Linked DNA regions of Homo sapiens: region 2 is linked to region 1. The links are contacts of gene promoters, found by promoter capture Hi-C in human tissues and cell types (Jung and others, 2019). All regions are on one chromosome and are shown on one strand. The core of a region is centred on a gene start or on the middle of the fragment in contact, and the rest is flanking DNA. Distances in the headings are between cores, read along the strand shown.

Evidence for each region. Contacts are between HindIII fragments. The study calls those that stand out against the background at their distance.
Region 2: a fragment that was not itself captured here is called in contact with the fragment with the promoter of OR2F2 in region 1 in 1 of the 25 tissues and cell types used here (hippocampus).

Annotation. Positions count from the first base shown.
Region 1 is chr7:143,933,783-143,936,482 of GRCh38, forward strand. OR2F2 (olfactory receptor family 2 subfamily F member 2) reads left to right here and starts at 1,451. Exons shown (of 1, transcript NM_001004685.1): 1 at 1,451-2,404. The coding sequence starts at 1,451. The coding sequence ends at 2,404. RefSeq lists an enhancer at 1,800-2,299. The HindIII fragment of the contact is 4,199 bases long and covers 1-2,700 here.
Region 2 is chr7:143,976,706-143,979,405 of GRCh38, forward strand. It overlaps the pseudogene CAPZA1P5. Among named protein-coding and RNA genes, the nearest start is that of OR6B1, 22 kb to the right of the region's middle. The HindIII fragment of the contact is 4,953 bases long and covers 1-2,700 here.

The DNA.
Region 1 (2,700 bases), core at 201-2,700:
TGGGCCCTGCTGTCTGGCAAGACCACTGGCTGAGCTCTGTTATCACACAGAGCTACTGACTGCGTACTGCAATGGCTTCTGGTCAGACTAGTCACAGAATTTATTCCCTGGCTGGAAAATTATGCTTTCTGGGATTTGCAGTTGGGCAGGGCTGTAGGCTGAACTCCAAAGTTAGGAGAAGTTGCTGCTTAGAATGATTGAGGCCAGAGGCTACACTCAGAAAAACACAATTGATGGTTGCTTCCCTGTTAAGGTGGAGCTTCCTTGTAGGGTTTCTTCCCTTTAAGATGGGCTTTTGGCTGAATTGAGTTTGACTTCCCAGGTCAAACAGTTCTAGCCCTCATGCTTCTCTGAAAGGCATGTAGATGTCCTTGATGGGGCCTTTTAGCTGAGTAGAGCCATGGATTGACTTCCTGGGTTAAGCAGGTCTACCTCATGTGTGTTTCTGAAATGGGTGGAGGTGTGTATCTCCTTGTCTTGGCAGAGGTCACTGGTGTGGGCTCTGAGACTGGACATGGGGACTAGCTATCTAAGGCCTCAAGCTAGGTTGTACTTCCCACCATGCTTCTGAAGATGACCAGCTTAGCTTTGTAAATGAACTATGAAGTTGACTAGTGTCTCAGATTGGGCACCACAGCTAGCAAGAACACAGAGGTAATGCCATGATCTGTGTGCTGGTCACTAAGACCTCTGCCTCCTTTCTTTGTTTTTACTTGACACCAGGTAGTCTAGCTATGCTGTTACCCCCAGTGTTCTCCATGAGATAAGCCCAGAGTGGGATTTCTGAGAAGCATCTTGGAAAACTAGAGATGCTGAATGACTGCCTCTAGTTTTCCTTTCCTCCTGTAAAAACCATGGGCCCAGGAAAACCCTCTTTGTCTGGTGTTGTGTTGACTTTGGCAGGAGGCAAGGTGGCAGGGTTGAAGTGAAACTATGCTTCTTAGCCTTCTAATTCAATTTTCATTCCACGTACCTTGTGGTTGTCTCATGTTAGTGTCCAAGTAGTGGAGTTTTAAAAGAGATATTCTGGTCTGGGGATAGTTGCTAGTTGAATGTTCTGTGGAGAAGAGTAGAGCCTGGGACTTTCTATTCTTCCTTTTTGCTGACATCATCAGAAAACAAACTCCCTGCCCTGGATACTGAGGTAAGCTAGTAAAGAGGTAAAGCTTCCAAAAATTGCACTGCATTATCTACAGGCTTTAACTGGCTTATTTGAGTCCACATCATGTCCTTATGAAAGCACTACTGTCTCTCTAATGCAAAGTAAATATAGTGTATGTTGGAAACAAGCCTGTCATCTTGGCCTTGTGAATTATCTAAAATATTTGGCCAAGGCTGGAATGTCGTATACAGTATGCATTCCTAAGAAGTTATTCTTATGATTCTTTGATTCAACAGCTTCTGTTTTTTTCTGACTCTTTCTACAGATTAATATTCCTCACATTTTTAAATGGAAATAGATAACCAGACGTGGGTGAGAGAATTTATTCTCCTTGGCTTATCCAGTGACTGGTGCACTCAGATATCCCTGTTTTCCCTGTTCTTGGTCACATACCTCATGACAGTGCTGGGGAACTGTCTCATTGTCCTTCTGATCAGACTGGACAGCCGACTCCACACTCCCATGTATTTCTTTCTCACCAACCTCTCCCTTGTCGATGTCTCCTATGCCACAAGCGTAGTCCCCCAGCTGCTGGCACATTTTCTTGCAGAACATAAAGCCATCCCATTCCAGAGCTGTGCAGCCCAGTTATTTTTCTCCCTGGCCTTGGGTGGGATTGAGTTTGTTCTCCTGGCAGTGATGGCCTATGACCGCCATGTGGCTGTGTCTGACCGCCTGCGATACTCGGCCATCATGCATGGAGGGCTGTGTGCTAGGTTGGCCATCACATCCTGGGTCAGTGGCTCCATCAACTCTCTTGTGCAGACTGCTATCACCTTTCAGCTGCCCATGTGCACTAACAAGTTTATTGATCACATATCCTGTGAACTCCTAGCTGTGGTCAGGCTGGCTTGTGTGGACACCTCCTCCAATGAGGCTGCCATCATGGTGTCTAGCATTGTTCTTCTGATGACACCTTTCTGCCTGGTTCTGTTGTCCTACATCCGGATCATCTCCACCATCCTAAAGATCCAGTCCAGAGAAGGAAGAAAGAAAGCCTTCCACACGTGTGCCTCTCACCTCACGGTGGTTGCCCTGTGCTACGGCACAACGATTTTCACTTACATCCAGCCCCACTCTGGTCCCTCAGTCCTTCAAGAGAAGCTGATCTCTGTCTTCTATGCCATTGTTATGCCTCTGCTGAACCCTGTGATTTATAGTCTAAGGAATAAAGAGGTGAAGGGGGCCTGGCATAAACTATTAGAGAAATTCTCTGGGTTAACATCCAAGCTGGGAACTTGACTCATGAACATTACTTTAAGAAGAAGCTTTGCCTCATTTTTCTCCACCCAGCTCAGATATGGCAGGGATAAACTATGTTGCTCTGGCAACCGGGAAGGAGATGATGTAACATGTACTGGGGATGTTATGTAGGAGGCTGAGTGGTTGAGTTGGATGGGGTGTGGGATGTGGGGATAATTTTATATCCCAGCAGTATGATTAGTGGAGTTAGCTACTGCTGTAACAGAACCTTCCACAATTTCTCAATCTCCACTCTTATGTTCTGATAAAAACTGAAAAAAAGTACTACTTACTGT
Region 2 (2,700 bases), core at 53-2,552, 43 kb after region 1:
CCTAAATGAGGAAGATGCTGGTGTTTCTCCTCTTTGACCTGTTCCCCATGAGGCTAGAAAGCCAAATGTCACCTTCATGGGCAAGTGGGGATAAGCGTACTCCGGTGCACTGTGACTCTTGGAATAGTCAGTCTCTGAACTGAATGAGATCAAAAGTAGAAACTCAATTAGTCCTCTTGATTCATCTGATTTTTACATTCATTTACTCCTTGGCCTTTAAACCAGGCTTATCCAACCCATGGTCCATGGGCTACATGGATGGCTTTGAATGTGGCCCAACACAAATTCATAAACTTTCATAAAATATTATGAGATCATCTTTGCAATTTTCTTTTTAGCTCATCAGCTATCATCATTGTTAGTGTATTTTATGTGTGGCCCAAGACAATTCTTCTTCCTTTGAGGCCCAGGGAAGCAAAAAGATTGGACACCCTGCTCTAAACAGTGACTATCATTGTGCATGACACAAGGCCATGCTATAGATAGGAGTGGCACAATGGATGCACACCAGATTCACAGATAATCCTTGGTTTCCTACTGACTCCCACTTTCTAGGCATATCACCTCCTTTTCTCACCTGTAAAATATAGACAACAAGCAAAAGTTTGAAATGATGTTGTGATTACACTATATTATATTATGTGAATAGATGTATATTTAGCATAATGACTGGCACAGAGTATGTTCTCAGAAAACAGTAAGTATAAGGTTATCCCAATGTCATATAGAGATCAATGCACTCACAACTTAATTATTCTCCTAATATTCTTTCCACCCCATGAACTTTGGACTTTGCCTAGCCAAGAGTGCTTCAGGAGCTTGCTTGTTTTCTTCCCACCACTTTCCACAAAAATAGTAGACAAATTGAAGAAAATTTTCTGAAACCAAATCCAATCATTCAATGATTTACTGGGCAATTGAGTTGGGTAAGTTATTTGAAACGATTTTACGAAGAAACTGGTTTTGCTTTGACTTTAATGCCTGTCACCTTAAAAAATATCAAATATATTTTTTGTGGGGAAAAAACCCAAATCGACTACATTGTTTCTGAGCAAAAACAACATGGCTTGAAGTATAAATACTCTCCTTTTGCATAGGTTTTTGGAGAAAGGTAGAAAAATACATTTTGTTTGTTCAATGTTTGTTCACTTTTTTTCTTTAAGCCTTTGTTATAGAAGTGTCAAGTATAAACGAATCCAACCTTAACCATAATTTCCACATGGATGCCACCTGTGTGCACGTCATCCCCAATGATAGTATCTGGAAAACTTGCTGCATCACAGTTGCGTTTGAGCTCTTGGTAGGCAGCACTAAAGAAAGGGTATTTGAAGTAAGTCTTGCATACGATGTAGGACAAATCACTGGTATTCCTTTAAAGAGCAGGTCACCATAGAAACATTTCCGAGAAATTCTGCATCCCATTTTGGTATGTTTTAAGTTTTATTTGTGATATACATAGTTGTTTAGTTCATTTGTTTAAATCCTATAACAAAATAGTAAACATAAACAACTAGTACTTCCTTCAGTATTCATACTGTCAGCAATAAGCAATTGGAGAGTGTGTATGTGTGTGTAATATATATAAGTGTGTGTGTGGATAGATAGATAGATAGATAGATAGATAGATAGATAGATAGATAGATAGATAGATGATAGAGAGTTATAATTCCCTTCTAAACCTGAAGATTTGCAGATATCTGCAGCCATCATGATGTTAGGTGGGAAGGAGAAAATGAAGGAAAAAAGCAAACGCTCCCATATGGAGGAAATATAGTTCAAATCTTCAGATTTAAAATAACACCCCCAGAGAAGGTACTTATAATGAATTTTTTAGAAAACTCCATTGCCTGTCAAAATGAACCTAGCAACCCCCCTCAATCTGAACTGTATTCTGAGAACTACAGTGTAGGAAGCCCTAGGTTGGGAACAAAGTAGTAGGAAGAGGAAGAACGGATGGGTCTTACACTTAGTGGTATTATGTAATATAGTCTCTTCAGCTGTTGGTAAATCTCTAAAAAGCATTCGGGTACCACAAGTACATTTACACCAGGATAGATGGACATTGTAAACATCACCAGTGCATATTTGTATCAGGCCTTTCATGACTAGGAAATTTCCTGACTCATATGTCTCTAGAACAAATACTTTTTATGCTAGTATAAAATGGGGCAGAACAAAAAGAAATTGATGTACAAATAGATATAGCACAACAGAAAATTACAAGAAAGGAAACAAAATAATTAACAATGTTATTATTTTTAGTTATGGGGATTAAAATCTGTTAACTCTGAACATTCGAGCAAAATATTGCTCTTAATTATAAATTACCTATTTGTGATATTTTGAATCCTTTTATCTTTTCACACCATGAACAACCTTACACCTTTAAGCATTGTGCATTTTTTTCCCCAGTCTTATAGCTGAGCATTAATTGTCTGATGATTTTGGGATGGATGACTGAAAACTCTCAGTGCAAGGTATTGAATGTGGTGCCTCATGTTAAGTGATCATTTTCACGAATTTTTATTTGACACCCAGTTTCTGAAAGCTCTATGTTTTTAATAAATTCCTTGGTGTCTCGGACCCTATTAAACAAACAATACTAAATCCTGAATATTTTATGAGCAACCATCTGAATATTGCTGTCTGCATAATAATGAACTTTAAAGTACCCGTATCCCCTGTGTTATAAGTCATGTG